7 separate regions of the Homo sapiens genome follow, and regions 1, 2, 3, 5, 6 and 7 are each linked to region 4. The links are contacts of gene promoters, found by promoter capture Hi-C in blood cells and fetal thymus (Javierre and others, 2016). All regions are on one chromosome and are shown on one strand. Each heading gives the region's core, a stretch centred on a gene start or on the middle of the fragment in contact. The rest is flanking DNA. Distances are from core to core; before and after follow the strand shown. Region 1 overlaps PLXDC2 (plexin domain containing 2). Region 2 overlaps PLXDC2 (plexin domain containing 2). Region 3 overlaps PLXDC2 (plexin domain containing 2). Region 4 holds the start of PLXDC2 (plexin domain containing 2). Region 5 overlaps PLXDC2 (plexin domain containing 2). Region 6 overlaps PLXDC2 (plexin domain containing 2). Region 7 overlaps PLXDC2 (plexin domain containing 2).

Region 1 (2,700 bases), core at 186-2,685, 390 kb before region 4:
TCCCATAATTTCCCTGTGTTGTGGGAGGGACCCAGTGGGAGATAATCTAATCATAGGGGCAGTTTCCCCCATACTGTTCTCATGGTAGTAAATAAGTCTCACAAGATCTGATGGCTTTATATGGGGTTTCCCCTTTTGCCTGGCTCTCATTCTTTCTTGTCTGCACCATGTAAGATGTGTCTTTTGCCTTCCACCATGATTGTGAGGCCTCCCTAGCCATGGGAAATTGTGAGTCCATTAAATGTCTTTTTCTTTATAAATTACCCAGTCTAAGATATGTCTTTATCAGAAGTGTGAAAAATGGACTAATACAATATATCTATATATAATATACAAAAATCCATGTTAATTATATTACTCTAAATAGATATCTATATATTTTTCAAAATAAATGGAAGCTGTTCAACTTTTGCCTTATATTTTCTTACAGTGCTCAAAGCATTACTTTGCAATCTTTCTTTTTTTTATTATTTTTAACTTGTTTTGCAATGAGTCCACATGATAGCTCTTTCTAAGAACCCTTGCCAGAGATTATGCACCATGGGATGAACAAGTATAATTTAATTCAAGTGGAATGTGAAAACAACCCTCCTGTCAACACAGAAGACAATCTCTCATTCTCTCAGGGCATGATCCATTGAAGTTAAGCTATTTTATGCCTACCATCTGTGTTGAACAAGCTTAAGTGTGGAGTAAACATCAGTGTGGGATTTGGCATCCTAAATTTGAGAATCCCCAGTTGGTCAAGGCCATCTCTGCTTACCCAATGAGATTTTGATGTGTGGAGTCTATTTAATTCCAGATGAGTTAGATGAGTGCTCCCTCCTATATTTTCCTTTTGAGTTTGTTTAAACATTGAAGAATGTACTGACATTCTGTTTTGGAAGATGGGGATGTATCAATTTTCTACAGAAGAAAAAAACATTTTCTTGGGAGCCACCTGACCATAACCATAAGTAATTCAATGGAACAGATCGTTCTTAAAGCACGGTTTGTTTTCACTTATTCTGTTTCAAATGTATCCAAAGCCAATGGGATGTACAAACTTTTACCTTATATTTTAACAAGACGGTGCCAAATCTTAAATTTGCATATCAACTGAAATTTTACCTTGGAATAATTAGTCCTTTAAATTATTAAATTAATCCCAGGGAAAAGTGCAGAAATGCAGTTTGTTTGATTTATTAATTAATCCCCCAATTATGTTGTGTGAAATTAAGTTTTACTGAAAATATAAATCAATTAAGTAATTCATCATTTATTTAAGACAAGAATTTCTTATTAATTGAAATTTACTAAGGGCTAGAATGGAAAGGACTGAGAATGGCAAAACAAGTGAGATTTGGTTTGAAAAGCTCATACTTTTTGTGGCATATAGTGCCTTAAAAATGAATAAAACTGGATCCAGCCATTTTAGCATTTTTTAGAGGCCAGTAATCTAAATGGCATCGAAAAGCAATTATAAGCACAAGAATGTGTGTGTGAGAGACAGTTGTATAAACCACTAGGAAAAGACACCTTGATATTATTTCTGAATTCTAAATAAACCAAAATCACTTTTGAGAACAGCTTCCTGTCCCCACTGAGGTGCTGTGTGTGTGTGTGTCTGTGTGTGTGTGTGTGTGTGTGTGTTTCAAAGCACAATGACATTAACCATATCACTATCCAGCACATTGTTTTCCAACATTTTTAACGGTGATTCACAAAGAGGCTCTCCCACATTGGAATTACCTGAGATGCCTGTCCAAATGCAAATTCATAGGTCTAACTGAGTAAGATTCTCTGGCAATTGGAACTCAGCAATTTTTATTGTAAATAAACACCTTCAGGGGATTCTTACCACTCTGACCTCCTCTACAATATATTCAGGCCTCTTGCTCACTCCTGTAGCCCATGCTCTACAACCCATTCATACCCTCCTTTTGCTCTAAGCACAGCAAATTCTTTTCCCTTCCCCGAAGGTGCTGTGCTCTTTCATGACTCTACCTTTGAACACACTATTACATACGGCTGGCCTACCCAACTGGCAAACCCAATCCAAATCAACCCCAATCTCCTCCAAGAAATAGCTCCTTCTCCTTCCACCCAGCAGATTCAGCAACCCTTGCTCAGAGACCCCCCAACACCAAGTGCAAATGTCCACTATTATACTACAATTGGCTGCTTTTGAGTTTATCTTACAAAGCTTTCAGGAGAACATGATTAAAAGTGAGGCTTTGGAATCCAATTGTTTGAGTTAGTATTTTGGCTTGGTCACAAAAAAGGTGTGTGATCTTAGATAAGTTATTTTTCTTTTTTTTTGAATGATTGTATTGCATGTTGACATATTATAATTGTATACATTTATGAGGTACAGTGTGATATTATGATATATGTATGTAATGTGAAAAGATTACATAAAGCTAATTAATATAGCCGTCATCTCAGATACTGATCTTTTTGTGATAAGAACATTTGACATTTACCGTCTAAGCAATTTTGAAACATAAACTACACTATATATACAATATAGTCATTATATGCAATATATAATAGATAGGTACAGCAAAAATACACAAAAATACAAAAGATACAATATGCTATACTCACTGTGTTGTGCAATATATCTCAAGAAACTTATTCCTCCTAACTGAAATGTTGTACTCTTATTTTCCCTTTCTAAGCCTGTTTCCTCATCTGTAAGATGAGGTGGGGGAGGTT
Region 2 (2,700 bases), core at 34-2,533, 260 kb before region 4:
TTAGAGAGATTCTGAACAGCACCAAAAAATGATAGGTATAGCCATGGTGATCAAGCGGACATCCCAAGTTATTTACATGCTATTCTACTTCCCAGACATCAGTGGTTGAGCCAGCCTTTAATAGGAGCAGTTAGAGATGACAATGGATTAGGTTCCTAAACACTCCTTGAGACCCCTTCTATGCTTTATGGAGAGAAATCTAATGAATGAGGTCATCAAAGGAAACAACAGACAAACTAAAAAGGCAGCACAGGACTTAAAGAGAAAGCACTTTGAAAAGAAATAAAGGAGGAAATGTAAGTGGGGGAAAAATGCAGTATTAGCATATGCTATCTATGTAGCATTTTCTATGAAACAGGTATCATTAACATATGTTAATTAATTTAGTCATCACAACAAATTTATGCACCAGGTATTTTTATTGTGCTATTTTATAGGCAAGGAAACTGACATCAGAGAGATTAAGTCATTTGCTGAAGATCATACAGTTACGATTGCCTTGGCTTATGAACTGAAGTATTCAGATTCAAAAGTCTATTTATCTTAACCTGGAAGCCTAACTTCTTCTCTAAGAAAATGCAACTCAATTTCTGGCTTAAGTAGGAATTGAGGGAACTCTTTTGAACTCATTTCTGAAATGGCCAGGGTCTAATGTCAGTCCTGCACTATTTACTATTTCTTTCCTTTACTTTCCAGGATTCGACAATGTTAGAGCATCTGGCATATATTGTTACTTTATTAATTGCACAGAGTCACTTAGACACCCTTTATTTTCAATTGGGTGATGTATTTCAGGATCTGTGTAAAATTGCTATTTATCTGAATTACTGCTGCAGTGACTAGGAAAGGCTACAAGCAAAAATATCATTGCCAGTGTTTCCAATAAAGCCTGGATGTGCTGGAAGAAGATGAATGATGCTTTCCTGGTATAAACATCCGTAAGGGAGTATTCTAGCACTAGCAATCAGTGGACACTTCAGTGGCTGTTATGGCAATGGAAGGGGATGAGCCTGGAGACCATGTTTTTCACCCACACCCTTGTCTCAGCTGATCCACCTTCCCCCATTCCTGTCCTAAAATCATGACTTATCCATCATGTGCCAATGCTCTGCTCAGTTTTGTTTACATCTAATTGTTCTCCTTCATTCTACCCATATTTCTGTCTCTTGTATTTTTCTTGCTGATTCCTATTGAGTCAACTCTTGCTCCTGGGTGCTTTCTCTCTGGGTCTCCTACTGGCTTAATTTCCAATTATGCTTCCCACCCCTGCCACAAGGAGCCAGTGCTAATGAAATAAAGCATGTATGGACAGACATGCAGGAGAAACAAGTGGTTGTGAATATGAAATTCGTGAAAGACAAAACAACATAGCTTGGCGCAGTGTCTCACACCTGTAATCCCAGCACTTTTGGAGGCTGAGATGGGAGGATTGCTAGAGGCTAGGAGTTTGAGATCAGCCTGGACAACATAATGAGACTCCATCTCTACAAAAAAATCTAAAAATTGGCCAGGCATGGTGGTGCATGCCTGTAGTCCCAGCTATTTGGGGAGCTGAAGTGGGAGGATCACTTGAGCCTAGGAGGTCAAGGCTGCAGTGAGCTGTGATTGTGCCACTGCACTCCAGCTTGGGTGACAGAGTGAGATCCTGTCTACAAAATAAAGAAATAAATATATAATAATGGTCAAGCTACTGAATCTACTGCTGACACTAGACAGTTTGAGGGAGGAGTAAGTTATCAAAGAAGACAGCTCAGATGAACTCTCAGGTTTTTGGAGGTCTATCTCAGAGAATTATTCAGATTCAGCAGATCAGACATCACGCAATTCATCTTTCTCTCTAGGAATCCTTGAGACTTGAGTTTGTAACTTTAAATCATTGAAGCAAGTTGGAATGAATTTACTTTCATCCAGCATCTATCTCTTTAGTATCTTCCATAACACATAGATCTCCAGATTACCATAACCTGTGATCTCTGTTAATAATAATAATAATACAAAACAACTCCATTCACCTTCTCCCTAGATGCAGAAAGTTAATGGATACACCATGCTTTGTTTTATGGGGTTATACACTTGAAAGAAGATGTTGTTGGTATTTACAAATCAATCATCATGAGTAATAACTATCTTCCTCTCCTAAAAAGCCTTTTATTCCTGTTATTAATCAAGTCCCTATAAAGAGTATGAAATATTATTTGGGACTACAATTAAAATATTACCATTTGAAAGCCAGAACAAAAAAGGAGCAGGGAGATTTGGTAATATATTTCCTGAAAAGCTAATGAAGATAAAATGCATTAATATTTTTAAAAAATCTCTCTTAGTGGGAATTTAAACAGAAAAAAAGCTAATGATTATTGGCCAGATATAGGAAACTACTCTAAGTTTGAATTTTAATATACCATACCTCAAAAAGTAAGGTATTTTTTTTTGGGAGGGAAACTGGTGAACTAAGAGACAAAGGAAGAAGGGAGATTTACATTTTACTTTTGCCTGTTTGACTTGTTAAATGTCCACGTTATTAGTTTTTCAGATATGTACAGGTATTACTTAATAAACATTTTAATCTTTTACGTAGCAAATGAAATAAAATAGAGCTAAAATTTAAACAGCTTTCTTATGAAATCTGTAAGTAGAAACCTGTGTAGAAAGGGAAGGCAAATTCTTCCTATGATCAAGGTAAGTAATACACATTCATTA
Region 3 (2,751 bases), core at 47-2,546, 350 kb before region 4:
TTAAGCTCATTAAGCTCGGAAAGTAGAGAAACAGTGAGGCCCGATGGGATAAGTCAGCACCCCACAGATGATGATTGAAATTCAAAATGTTACATTGGAGGAGAGAGAAACAAATTAGTGCAAATGGCACTAGTGAGAATCGTGCGTGTATCCAGGAAGACCTCTGCATGTTGTGTAAGGATTTGGAAGGACATAAGCTGAGGCTGAGAAAGAATTACTTAATAGAGCTATTTACCAAGAAATTATGGAAATTACAAACAACACATGAATATATGACGGTGTTAAAACTTTCTGGTAATCGAAAGACAACAATGAAATACCATTTCGTGCTTACCAAATTTGCAGAGTTAAAAATGAATATTAGAAAGCTCTTTGGGAAATGGGATATTTCTAATATAACAATGGGTAGTAAACTGGTACAACCTTGATGGAAAGCAATTTGTCAAAATACATTCAAAACAATATTAACATTCAGTATCCACAAATTCACTTTTTGAGAATCAGATACATGCAAAAATTTAGAAACAAGGACGTTTAGCACCATTTTACTGATAATATGCGATGCAAACTATGTAACCAACCTCTTTAGTGACAGGTTACATAAATTATGAAACAGATAAATTTCTTATAACTATTAATGACCACATTTTAGACAGATATTTAACAGTGTAAAAAATATGTTTTATATATGAAGGTGAAAACAGGGGGCAGAATAATTTACAGCATAATGCCAATTTTCTTAATGTGGGTATCTTCATATATGTGTATATTACAAATAAATAGTTGGATACAGATACGTGAAAACATTTATTACTATTTCTCTGTAGTAGATTTCTAAGTAATTTAAATTTTCCTCCTTGGGTTTCCTGTTAATTTATAAATTACTCAGAATTATAATGTGCTATGCTTCTAATCATAATAAGTATATTTTTACATTCATATTTCTGAAATGAACAACCAAAGTCAGTCCTGTACTTAGACCTGTTTTTCATAGCTGTACCTGTGGATGTTGAATTAGCTGATTTCTATGGTTCTTTCTGTTTCTAAAGATTTACAAATACATTTTATGAAAAACAGTGATTTCGAGACATACAGATGGACAGACAGGCAGACATAAGTCTTATGAAGAGACATAAAACAACACACATCAACATAGTCAGAAAGCACTGAAGTTCCAGAGACACACTGTCACTGTGTTTCTTAGTGGGAATCTCCTGTGGTTCCACTCTGAAGGGCACTCAGCTTTGGCAGTGACATCTAAGTTAGTATCGCTGTTTTTTAAAGTGATAACGATGATGGAAAAAACAGTAACTTTAAGTACAAGTGTACTACTTACTCTCTGCTAGGTAATGCATGCTGTGTACACATTGCATTTTTAGGTACTAAGATGCTCATTTTATATAGAAAGAAAGTTACAGAAATCAATTAAAAGTTTAATGTTTCATGACCAATAATCAAATGACAATATTCCTTATACTTGCTTTACTTTTAATTTCCACCTTTTTTAACATAAGTCTTAGTTTTACCATACTTTTCCCTCTCTTTTTGAGGGAGCAAAGGTATTTCTCTTGTAAACTCAGAAGGATTTATCAATTTACTAACAATGCCTGAATTCCCTTTGATATTGAAACTATCAGATCACCTGATCTTTTATGAAAGAAAATAAAGCTACTTTAATTAATCATGCTTGAAATTTACATTGAAATCATTTACTATTTGGGGGTCTTCAAAAACTGAAAAACAAGTGTTTTGTTGTTGATGTGAGGAAGAATGAATAGGGAGAAATTTTAATAATAAATAAATTAAAATTGCTTTACAGCATTTTGAATGCTTTACCAAATCTTCACCAAATCTGATAAGAATGATATAGTAATGGTGATCTACTGGGAAATACTATTTTCCAGGCTTGAGCTCACATTCCCATGTTCCCATGGCTACATGAAGCCAAAGGTTTAGGTAATATAACCTATGTAACTAAAATGATTAATAGAATAGAAAACTGATCTTATGAGAACAGGGTTCTATGTAACACACCTTGGAATACAGAAGAAATGAAACTACTCACTACTTAGAATAATAATCAGTTGTTCCCTAAATCCACTTGGTGGGGGTAAAAAAGTTAACAGAGGCAAAGTATTTAAATTCCCTACAAAGACAATTCCTAATAGTGAGTGTTGCTAAATAAGGGAACTGAATTTTGAAAAGGACTTAATATCGGTCTAAATTCTGATTGTTGAATATGTAACATAGGTCTGTAGGAATCAACTTATTTCTCACAAAAGAACTGTACTTGTATAACTTGCATTGTGCTAATCTTGGGTTATCCTAATCTCTGGCATAAAGATGCACTTTCTGTTAGCTGAGAATACAATGCAACCGTGTATCTCTTGTTATACAGAAGCTCATGCAACAGACACAGTTATACTTTATAAATGTGGGAGAGACTTTTAAGGAGATAAAATTTTGTGTTCCCAAAATGATTTTTAAGTAGAACATATTGATTCTAATTTTCTTGCATAAATATAGTCGCATCTAACAGCAACAATGGCAGAACTCGAGACCCAAATCTTTCATTCCTTCTTGGCTAATTTTCTCAGGATGGAACAGTAAGGTTAACAGAAAATGTGACTGCTTTTCCAGTATGCAAATTGTGTGAGGGACATTTTTCTCTGAATTCTACGTTTGAATTAAGTTCTTTTAGATAACTGCTGAGTCCCAAACTTTAGACATAATCTGGTCTGAAAATTCATA
Region 4 (2,700 bases), core at 115-2,614:
AGGCGAGCCCGCCTCCACCTTTCCCACCTGCTCCCCACCTCTGCGCCGGCCGCATTTACCCCGCCCCCCTTCCAGCGCCCGCTTGGCCCAGGTCACTAGACGGAGCTAGTGGGGATCGCCAGGGGAAGGAAGGTGCTGCCACAGGGAATTTTCTCGTGCAGAGGGGAGACCTGCAATCCCTGGCTTTCACAACGTCCCCCACCCACCCCATACCACACACGCTTAGTTTAACCAGCAGCGAGGAAGGAGGAGGAGCCGGAGAGCACACAGCCTGGAGATGCCAGGTCCTAGGAGATGTATCCACGGAAGAAGCTTTGCTCTCACACTGAAGCCCTCCCTGGGCTACTTTGGGGAGACAGTACCACCCCCTGCCGCCCAGGTGAAGTAAGCCCGAAAGCCTCAAGAAAACCCCTAGTCCCCGGCGTCCTTCTCTTGATAACCCTCTTTCCCCATTTGGGAAGCCTAAGTTTAGCCGAAAAGCAACTGCAATAAGTTTCCCAAGGGCAGATAGGTGATGTTGGGGGGAGAGGGTAGGGAGCACGAGAGTGCCAGAGAGGTCTTCAGCTGCGCACAAAATCAGCAAGCTAAAGTGCATCTTACTTACCAAGGATTTGGTCTCCGGGTTTCCCATCGGCGAACTGAAACTGGTCCGTGAAGAAGTGGCAAAGTAACATAACTCCTGCAGCGGCCAGGTCGGCCTTCGGGAACCTCGCCATGCCGCCGCCGCCACCTCCCTACCCCACCCGCCAGTCCTTCGCCGGTGCTCGGGGGCTCCCGATGCAATAGGCACGACCGGGCCAAACGCTGCGGATCGGTCTCGGTAGGACCCGGAGGCCTTTGTAAATGTCGCTGCGATTTCACAGTAGGGAACCGAGAAGAGGAAGAAGCGAACGCGAGTAGGAGCGCAGCGCTCTTCGGACCTCTGAGGCTCTCTTTGCAACTTGCCACACTCGCAGCCCTCACCCGACACTGAACAACAACCGCGGGGAGGAGAGGCCACTTGCAGCCGAGGCTCGCAAACTGTCGGTTCCACTCGGGCAGCGCCAACCCGGTGCCCGCGGACGGTGACTTCCGAGCCCCAGCGATGCGCTCCACTGGGTTCAAAACAGATCTAATTCCACAGCCAGCGCCGCTGCCTGCCCCAGATCCACTAGGGCTGGTCGGCTCTGCAGGAACTTTCCTCTGTCTAGGGATGGCCCCGGCAGGAGGTTTAGGTTTGCGGGAAGGAGGTTGATGACGAAACCCTCCCGACAAGTTTTGCTTCTTTTCTTCGCCCGACGCAGGGCGCGCGTCCTTTCTCGCAGCCGGAGGAATGGGCAGCTCCAAAGAGCTGAGCCCTGGGAAGGTTAGGGCTGCAGCAGTCTGAGGTCCGAAGCCAGGAAAAAAATGTGTTTAAAAAAAAAAAAAAAAAAGAGGAAGAAGAAAGGAAAAGGGTGGAGTGGGAGGGAGTCACGCTGGAACCTATCGGGAGAGGGTTCCTCCGGGCTCAGGAGGAGGTGGCCCCAAGCCCCCGCGGAGCCCCAGGAGTTTGGTGGCGGAGGAGGCGCTGCCGTCGCCACGCTCCCCCGCGCTCCTTCTCCACACTTTGAGGAGGGAAGGCAGCTCGCAATTTGCCAGATCTGCCGCCGCACCCTCCTCCCTCCTCCCTCCGCCCTCCCCTTCGCTCCTCCAGGCTTCTCCCACCTTCCTCCCTGAAACCGGCAGCCCGCACAGACCTGTCCAATGGCTGCACTTTCCTCGGGGCTGGCTGAGGAGTCGCGGCCAACAGATTAAGCCGGGGGAGCCTAGCGAAGGGGAGGGAGAGGGCCACTCCAGCCCCGTGCGCCCCAGGCAGCCGGCTGCCCCAGAGCGCGGGGAGAGGGGACAGGCCGGGGAGCTATCGGGGGAGCGCGGGGCGGTACCTCCGCGCCGCCGGGGCGCCATCCTCGCAGCCTGCTCGCACGCCCTGGGCAGCTCCGCCAACTGCGCCCCACACCCACCTGGCTCCCGGGCCGCCTTCGCGCCCGACTGCGGGGGGCGATCGCGCCCCGCCCCGACCCTGGCGGGGTCTCCCTGGGCACGAAAGGGTTAACCACAGCTCGCCCCTTCGCGGAGGCTGGTTCTGGTAGTGGCTAGGGAGTGGAGAAAGCAAACCAGAGCCGGTTCGGTTACCGACTCTGCGAAGCCCCCTCGACCCCAGCCCAGCGCGGGAGGGTGGCGGAAGGTGGTGCACCGCAGCGTGGTCCCCGCCGCTGCCGCCGCGGCTTTGCAAAGTGTCAGCGGGGGCGAAAGCGAGAGTTTAAAGGAACAGGAGGCCCATTGAATTTCCTACCGGAGCTTTCAGGGGCTCTGGCTCCCCAGTTTGTTTTTGTTTTTTCAGCTCGGGGATCTGTTTCCGCGTTAACCCTTGCCGGCCCTCTCGTTAGTTGATATCTTATTTTGCATACAGTTAATCATTTTTGAAAGGGATAAATACAAGGAAAAGAAGCAAAGCGCTATTGGTTAAAAGTACAGGATCTAGAGCCCGGACAGCCTGGGCTGGAATTTCACCTCCCCCGCAATGAGCAGTTTATCTCCTAGCCTCAGTTATCCATCCATCAAATGGAGAGAATTAGAGTAACGCCCTTATAAGGTGGTTGCAATGGATTGGATGAGTTAACTGTATATTTAATAAATATAGAACATTGCCTACCGCAAAGTACATGGCTTTGTTTAAGTGTT
Region 5 (2,700 bases), core at 120-2,619, 330 kb before region 4:
TTACTTAACTAAATTTATTCAATCCATTACTAATTTTAATGTAAAATTTAATGGTAATTAAAATTTACAATTTTAAAACAAGCCCCAAATTGGTGGTGGGTTTTGTGTAAATCAGAATTTTTCTTCTCATTCACATAAAACATAATGAAACAAAACAAAGCTGGTGTTAGCCTATTAGAAGAAACTTATTACAGAAAGAATTACACGTACTTCCCTATGTATAATTTGGCAAGTTTAGCTTGGACAGGAACAGAAAATTTTACTCCTTGTAATTATATGCTCTTAGAATTTGGTTAGTTCTGCAAATGAAGTAGGAATACCTCTCTTATCTATACTTGTAATTGTGTGATATGACAAGTCTAATAAGCAAGATTGTTAAACAGCCAATATTAAGAAACGCTTATTGGAAAGACAAATGAGACATAGATTTGTGAATTGTTTTACATAATCTCTTTAGGCAGAGAAAATGGTTGAGATGTCTTGGGATCATCAAATTAAATTCTGGATTTATTCTTAACTAGCTCTGTGACCTCAAGTATGTCATTTAATCTCTCTGACTTACCCTGCTCAGCTATAAAATGAAGATAATCATGTATGATCTATTTCCAAAATTAAGTCATAAACATTTATTGAACAGCTTCTATGTACCACCGCTATTGTAAAATACTTAGGATATTAAAGCTGTAGGAAACTATTGAGGAATTAAATGCTATAATGCATGTGAAAGTACTTTGTAAGTGGTAATACATTACGCAAACTACTATTTTATGCTATCATGTGATTAGGAATATTTTTCCAGCAGTGCCAGGAGCTTCTAGCTCTCACCTCAAATGCAAGGGGACTCTCTTACGACAAATTTTACAAATAACAATTTGCCTTAGCAAAATAAAATACATAACAATTATTGGGAAGCAAAAAGTGGTAGACTAGAAAAGTAGAAACTGCTTTGTATCGAGAACAAAGAAAGAACAGAAAGGCAAATAATAAAGTAAAGTAAATAATAAAGTAAAAATGACTTCTTTGAACTCCAAGTGCAGAGGGAAGACATTCTTCAGGACAAGAGCCTGGGAATATCAAGAAAACATTAAATTTGCCTGTCATCTTGAAATTCCCCATAACAAAACAGGAAAACCATAGTGGAACTTTTTTCTTTGATTAAAATGAAGAAAAGAAAAGGCCTTTAAAAATACCAACCAAGAACAGAGAAAAGGAAGAATTCTGCAATGTGAGACACCTTTGAGAACAGCGTAAAGAAAGATGACAATTTCAATAATAAAGACTAGCAAGCGAAGCCACAATAAGAACACAAATTTCTGTTTTGACAAAGCCTCCAGGTGGTGAGACCTAAGTCTCCAAACTTACTGACCTTGCGTCTTTACAGAGACTTGACCAGTGTTGGTTCAAACCGTTGAAAATGAACATTGCAAAACGTCACTGTGCAGTTACAGCAATATACTAGATTGCAATGAAAACTAGAAATGAATAAGTCCTTTTGAGAACTATTCTCTCAGCTTCCAGGGAGTGTGACATAAAAATATAGTGGGCTCTGATATAAAAACACAGCCCTGATGTTATTTCTTTGAGGAATCGCCACACTGCTTTCCCCAGTAGCTGAACTAATTTACACTCCCACCAGCAGTGTATAAGCATTCCCTTTTCTCCACAACCTCACCAGTAAAACTACATTCAGGCCAGCAATCCCATTACTGGGTATATAACCAAAGGAATGTAAATCCATGTAACCAAACACCACCTATTTCCCCAAAACCTATTGAAACAAAAAACTGGGTAGAACAAAGAAAATTTTTAGGGCAGGGAAGATTCTGTAGGACACCATAATGATGGATGCATGACATTATACATCCTTAAAACCCTTAGAAAGTACAGCATCAAGAGGGAACTCTAATCTAAGAACTCTGAGTGACATTGATGTGTCAATGTCAATGTAGGTTCATCTATTGCAACAAATGTACCATTCTGGTGGGGTATGTCGATGATGGGGGAGGATGTTCAGCAGGACAAGAAGAGTATGTTCAAACTCTGTGTATTTTCTGCATCATTTTCTGTGAATCTAAAACTACTCTAAAAAAGTAAACTCTATTAATTAAAAGAATAAGTAAATCATTCTGCCACACAGACACATACATATGTATGTTAATTGCAGCACTATTTATAATAGCAAGGACATGGAATCAACCTAAATGCCCACCAATGATAGACTGGATAAAGAAAACCAGGTACATATACACCATGGAATACTATGAGGCCATAAAAGAAATGAGATCATGTCTTCTGTAGGGACCTGGATGGAGCTGGAGGCCATTATCCTTAGCAAACTAATGCAGGAATGGAAAACCAAATACCAAATGTTCTCACTTATAAGTGGGAGCTAAATGATGAGAATGCATGGGCCAAAGAAGGGAACAACAGACACTGGGGCCTACTTGAGAGTGGAAGGTGAGAGGAGGGAGAAGATCAGAAAAAATAACTATCGGCCGGGCGCAGTGGCTCACGCCTGTAATCCCAGCACTTTGGGAGGCCGAGGCAGGAGGATCACCTGAGGTAGGGCGTTCAAGACCAGCCTGATCAACATGGAGAAACCCCGTCTCTACTAAAAATACAAAAATTAGCTGGGCATGGTGGTGCATGCCTGTAATCCCAGTTACTTGGGAGGCTGAGGCAGGAGAATCGCTTGTACCC
Region 6 (2,700 bases), core at 48-2,547, 310 kb before region 4:
ATATTAAGAACATAAATATATAAAGCAAATATTAAGAGAGCTAAAAGGAGAAATAGTTCACCAATACAATAATAGTAGAGGACTTCAATATTGCCACCTTCAGCAGTGGATAGGTCATCCAGACAAAAACAATCCATAAGTATACAGAAGACACGAACAAGACTGAAGACCAAATGAATTTAACAGAGATATATAGAACGTTTCATCCAACAGCAGCAGAATATACATTCTTTACAAATGCACATGGAATATTTGTTAGGATAGATCCACGTTAGGTCAAATAAAAGTCTTCACAGATTTAAGAAGATTTAAGTAATACCAAGTATCTTTTCAGACCACGATGAAATGAAATTAGAAATCAATAAGAGGAGGAAAATTGGAAGCATTTGCAAATATGTGAAAATTAAATAACATAGTTCTGAACAACCAATGAGTCAAAGAAGAAATCAATAGTGATCTTAAAAGATATCTTGAGACAAACAAAAATGCAAATATAACTTTCCAAATTTTATGGGATGCAGCAACAGCAGCCCTAAGGGGTAAGTTTATAGCAATAAATGCCTACATGAAGAAAAAAGAAAGATTTCATAAAAGCAACCTAATATGACACCTCAAGGAACAAGGAAACAAGAACAAACTAAGCTTAAGAAAGGATATAATAAAGAGTTAGCAGAAGGAAGGAAATAAAAAAGATCAGAATATATATGAATGATATAGGGACTAGAAAAAACAATACAAAAGATTAATGAAACTAGGAGTTGGGTTTTTTTTCTAAATAAACAAAAGAGTAACTTTTAGTTAAACTAAGAAAAAATAGAATAATAAAACTGTAAGTGGCCGGGTGCAGTGGCTCACGCCTGTAATCCCAGCACTTTGGGAGGCTGAGGCAGGTGGATCACCTGAGGTCAGGAGTTCAAGACCAGCCTGACCAATATGATGAAACCCTGTCTCTATTAAAAATACAAAAATTAGCTGGGCATGGTGGCATGTGCCCATAATTCCAGCTACTCGGGAGGCTGAGACAGGAGAATTGCTCGAACTCAGGAGGCGGAGGTTGCAGTGCACTGAGATTGCACCATTGCACTCCAGCCTGGGCAACAAGAGTGAAACTCTGTCTCAAAAAAGAAAAAAAATTATAAGTGAAAGAAGAGATTACAATTGATACCATATAAATATAAAATATCAGAAGAAACTACTATAAAAATTATATGCCAACAAATTCGATAACCTAGAAGCAGTGTATAAATTTCTGGAAACATACATATTACCACGTCGGAACAGAACAGTACAGAAACACTAAATAGAATAGAAAATATGGATAAAAGAAACCAGAACAAAAAACAGAATAGAAAATCTGAAAAAAAAAAAATAACAAGTAAAGAGACTTAATCAGTAATCAAAAACCTCCAAACAAAGAGATGCTCAGGACCTCATGGCTTTACTGGGGTAAATTCTACCAAACATTTAAAGGATATTTAACACCAATACTACTTAAAATCTTCCAAAAAATTTGAAGAGAAAGAAACACTTGCAAACTCTTTTCTCATGGCCAGCATTACCTGGATACCAAAGTCAGACGAAAACGTTACAATAAAAGAAAACTACAGGTCAATATCCCTGATGAATGTAGATGCAGAAATCCTTACCAAATAATAGAAAATCTAATTCAACAGCACATTAAAAGGATCACTACCCATGATCACATGGGTTTTATCCTTGTTTTAACATACACAAATCAATAAATGTGATATACTACATTAATAGAATGAAGATTAAAAATTATATGATCATCTCGATATATGCAAAAAAGCATTTGACAAAATTTAACATCCTTTCATGATAAAAACTCTCAACAAATTAGGTATAGATGGAATATAACTTAAAATAATAAAGAATATGTATGACAAGTCCACATATAGTATCACACTCAATGATAAAAAGCTAAAAGCTTCTCGGGATTAGTAACAAGATAAGGATACTCATTCTTGCCACTTCTATTCAATATAATATTAGAAGTTCTAGCCAGAGCAATTAATCAAGAAAAAAGAAATAAAAGACAAACCAGAAAGGAAGAAATAAAATTTTCTTTGCAGATGACATAATGCTCTATATACAAAACCCTTAAAACTCCTCCAAAAACCTGTTGGCATTAATAAACAAATTCAGTGAAAGTACAAGATACACAATAAACATGCGAAAATCAGTTGTGTTTCTATACACTAACAACAAACTATCCAAAATAGAAATTAACACTCTCACATACAATAGCACCAAAATTTAAAATATTTAGAAATAATTTTATCCAAAGAGATAAAAGATCCGTAAACTGAAGCATTGGTGAAAGAAAATTAAAGAAATCACAAATAAAAGGAATGATATCCTGTGATCATAGATGAGAAGAATTGAAAATTAAAAATATTAAACTTTCCATGTGACCCAAAGCAATCTACATATTAAATGCAATTCTTATCAAAATCCCAATGGCATTTTCAAAGAAAAAGAAAAAAAAAATCAAGAAATTCATATGGAACCACAAAAGGCCTGTAACTGCCAAAGCTATCTTGAGCAAGAAGAACAAAGCTGGAGGCATCACACTACCTGATTTCAAAATCTACTACAAAGCTACAGAAATCAAAACAGAATGGTTCTGGAATGAAAACAGTCACACAGACCAAAGGAACAGAATAGACAGCCCAGCCC
Region 7 (2,799 bases), core at 225-2,724, 370 kb before region 4:
AATTTTCTGCTTCTGAAAAGTTTTGAATTTTTCTGAGTGCCCAAATTGCCCTAATAAACTTTTATATATATGTGTATATATATATATGTGTGTGTGTGTGTATATATATGTGTGTGTATATATATGTGTGTGTATGTGTATATATATATATATATATATATATATATGGCCTACCTTTCTTTTAAAAAGTGTGTTCCTTTGTTTATCGATGGTTTTATTATACACAATATGTGTGTGTGGTAAAAATTCAAATCTTTCAAAGATCTGATTATGATGAAATGGTAATACGTATTTCTCTTTATGCCAGTTTCCAATTCATGACAGGTTCTCCAAAGGGAAGCCCTGTTATTAGTACCTTATGTATTTTTTTCAAAAGCATTATTTACATCAAAATATATTTCAAAATGCTTTTATGTTATGGATAAAATAACATCATACCTCACTGTATTATTATATTTAATCCACACAAAAATAATTAGTACACTTTTGTTAAACTCAGGTTTGGAAGGCTTAAAAGGAGGTAAAAATAAACTTTTACTTTGCATTCTTAAAAGACAATCTTGTTTATGCTATATTTCAGGACAAGCAGCTTAATAGAAAAGCGAAGATTCTTCATTAAAATTTGAAAAAAAAAACTGATTATAAAAGGTCTTGTACTAAAATAAATTCAAAGTTCAATTTATCTCTTATAGCATTGTAAGCTAAAAACAACCATCTTAGTTGTATGGCATTTTTAGAACCTCCTTAAATTTCTTTAAAACACTGATTACCACTTGGATAGCAATAATTTAATATCAACTCAGAACTAAAGAAAGTTCCAATCTTTTTAACTAGTTCACAACATTCTAAAATCTTCTGATTTATTTATCATATACACTACACTTATTCAAAAGCTTCTTACTTTCTTTTATCAGGCTCAACTTCATTAGCTCTTAATATGTTTTAATAATAAATATATCTACAGATTTTTTCTATAATATTTCTCAGTTCCATATTAAGGATGAATAAGTGCTTCCATACAACTTAGGCAAAATCACTGCAGCTTCCAGGCCCCTTAGCTCAGACATACAAGATCAGCATTTCTACTGCCCTAGTCCTAGACTACCTCAGCATTCCCCAAAAAGGCTTATTAAAAAGCCAAATCCCTGGGATCCACTTTGGACCTACTGAATATGAATCTTTAGTGAGCTGTAGAGCAATCTGCATCTTGACAAAATTCTGTGCCAATTCTTAACTGTATTAATATTAATATTATGCTGTGAAATAAGCCAGACACAGAAAGATGAGTACCGCATGTTCTCACACACATGGAAGCTAAAAATGTTGATTTCATAGAAGTAGAGAATAGGATAATGGCTACTAGGGGTAAGAAAGGATGGGGAAAGGGGGAGATACTGAAAAGTTTGTTAATGAATACAAAGTACAGCCCGATAGAAGGAATAAGTTCTAGTGTTCTATTTTTGGGCAATTAACTTTTAACTATTTTAATATATATTTAATAACACATATTTAGTATATATTTAATAACATTCACATTTATTTACACTTATATGAGTTGGGGGGAAACGAGTCAAATATCCTTTTATTATCACTGGATGAACAGCATCTATTATGTACTTCTCTATGAAATATATATTTAATTGAGTATTGAATATAAAAAGAACTTTAGATTAACAGTTTTCTATTGAAATGGCTGATATGATGGTAAATGAGAACACTTTTCAAAAATAGTTTACAGTTTAGTTATTTGTTTTGTGGGGAACGTAATGTTAAAATATAGAAAGACATTTAAAATACATGTTTACACTCAACCCAGCTCTTTTAATATTTCTGTAAGAAAATTATGAAAGTGTCATCGAGATCGATTCTGATTTTTCACTTTTGTTAAAAGCTATCCCCCAGAAAAGTGAAAAGATGACTATTTTACATTTCTTAATAGGAACATCCTAATTAAGATTTTGATGATGTTTTCTAAAAGCTAAAGCATTTATTTTCTATCCATTTCTGAGTCAGACATGCAGCCTTACCCATTAAGAAGACCTGCAAAAAGCTTTGAAGTAAATTATGTGCTAGGAATTACAGTTATGTCAATAACTGTAATTAACAATTTATTGTATATTTTCAAATATACAATAGAAGAGCAGATTTTAAACGTTCCTAACACCAAGACATACTAAATGTTTAAGGTGATTGATATGTTAATTATATTGATTTGATCATTATACATTGTATACCTGTATTAAAATATCACACTGTACCCTATAAATGTGTATAATTGTTATGTCAATTAAAGATAATAAAAGCAAAAAGATCTACAAAAAAGAAATTTTGAGAACTACTGAAATTGGGTCCATTCAGCTTTAAGGAATATCAGAATCTGATATATCTAGAGGCCAGATGTATTTTCCATTCTGGGATACAGAGTAAGCAGGCTTTATTGCTTTGTTCAAGGTGAGATTGTTTATTGCTGGCTGTGCCACTAGGTATCCAACCAGACATTTCCACGTAATTCACCTAAGGTCATAAAATATGGCCTCCTTTCCCATAGTATTCTTGGGATTTTTTTTTGAATCTTTTGAATAACTCAGGAATGCTTCCTCAACTTTTGAATGCTCCTCAACCTCAGGTACCCGGCAGCTGAGTACCTCCTGACACAGAAAGCCAAATACACTTACTATAGAATACACCATTTGACCCTGCAATCCCATTACTGGGTATATACCCAAAGGAATATAAATCCTACTAGAATAAAGATACATGCACACATATATTCATTGCAGCACTATTCACAATAGCAAA

The links. Contacts are between HindIII fragments. The CHiCAGO score rates a contact against its expected background, and 5 or more counts as called.
Region 1: a contact is called between a fragment that was not itself captured here and the fragment with the promoter of PLXDC2 in region 4, in 4 of 17 cell types (neutrophils, M0 macrophages, monocytes and 1 more). The highest score is 6.3, in neutrophils.
Region 2: a contact is called between a fragment that was not itself captured here and the fragment with the promoter of PLXDC2 in region 4, in 2 of 17 cell types (M2 macrophages and monocytes). The highest score is 6.6, in M2 macrophages.
Region 3: a fragment that was not itself captured here is called in contact with the fragment with the promoter of PLXDC2 in region 4 in 2 of 17 cell types (M2 macrophages and neutrophils); the score reaches 7.3 in M2 macrophages.
Region 5: a fragment that was not itself captured here is called in contact with the fragment with the promoter of PLXDC2 in region 4 in 4 of 17 cell types (M2 macrophages, neutrophils, monocytes and 1 more); the score reaches 7.9 in M2 macrophages.
Region 6: a fragment that was not itself captured here is called in contact with the fragment with the promoter of PLXDC2 in region 4 in 1 of 17 cell types (M2 macrophages); the score reaches 5.3 in M2 macrophages.
Region 7: a contact is called between a fragment that was not itself captured here and the fragment with the promoter of PLXDC2 in region 4, in 2 of 17 cell types (M2 macrophages and M0 macrophages). The highest score is 7.8, in M2 macrophages.

The regions. Positions count from the first base shown.
Region 1 is chr10:20,205,782-20,208,481 of GRCh38, reverse strand. The region is part of intron 9 of PLXDC2 (plexin domain containing 2); the gene reads right to left. Among named protein-coding and RNA genes, the nearest start is that of MIR4675, 340 kb to the left of the region's middle. The HindIII fragment of the contact is 1,505 bases long and covers 683-2,187 here.
Region 2 is chr10:20,074,159-20,076,858 of GRCh38, reverse strand. The region is part of intron 4 of PLXDC2 (plexin domain containing 2); the gene reads right to left. Among named protein-coding and RNA genes, the nearest start is that of PLXDC2, 260 kb to the right of the region's middle. The HindIII fragment of the contact is 4,019 bases long and covers 1-2,700 here.
Region 3 is chr10:20,166,926-20,169,676 of GRCh38, reverse strand. All of the region lies in intron 7 of PLXDC2 (plexin domain containing 2), which reads right to left. Among named protein-coding and RNA genes, the nearest start is that of PLXDC2, 350 kb to the right of the region's middle. The HindIII fragment of the contact is 4,412 bases long and covers 1-2,751 here.
Region 4 is chr10:19,815,096-19,817,795 of GRCh38, reverse strand. It overlaps PLXDC2 (plexin domain containing 2), which reads right to left and starts at 1,364. Exons shown (of 14, transcript NM_032812.9): 1 at 605-1,364. The coding sequence starts at 716. LOC124902388 (a long non-coding RNA gene) reads left to right here and starts at 1,568. Exons shown (of 2, transcript XR_007062078.1): 1 at 1,568-2,700. RefSeq lists an enhancer at 1,675-2,440. The HindIII fragment of the contact is 8,470 bases long and covers 315-2,700 here.
Region 5 is chr10:20,149,332-20,152,031 of GRCh38, reverse strand. All of the region lies in intron 6 of PLXDC2 (plexin domain containing 2), which reads right to left. Among named protein-coding and RNA genes, the nearest start is that of PLXDC2, 330 kb to the right of the region's middle. The HindIII fragment of the contact is 5,641 bases long and covers 1-2,700 here.
Region 6 is chr10:20,129,835-20,132,534 of GRCh38, reverse strand. The region is part of intron 4 of PLXDC2 (plexin domain containing 2); the gene reads right to left. Among named protein-coding and RNA genes, the nearest start is that of PLXDC2, 310 kb to the right of the region's middle. The HindIII fragment of the contact is 1,306 bases long and covers 645-1,950 here.
Region 7 is chr10:20,186,845-20,189,643 of GRCh38, reverse strand. All of the region lies in intron 9 of PLXDC2 (plexin domain containing 2), which reads right to left. Among named protein-coding and RNA genes, the nearest start is that of MIR4675, 360 kb to the left of the region's middle. The HindIII fragment of the contact is 1,157 bases long and covers 896-2,052 here.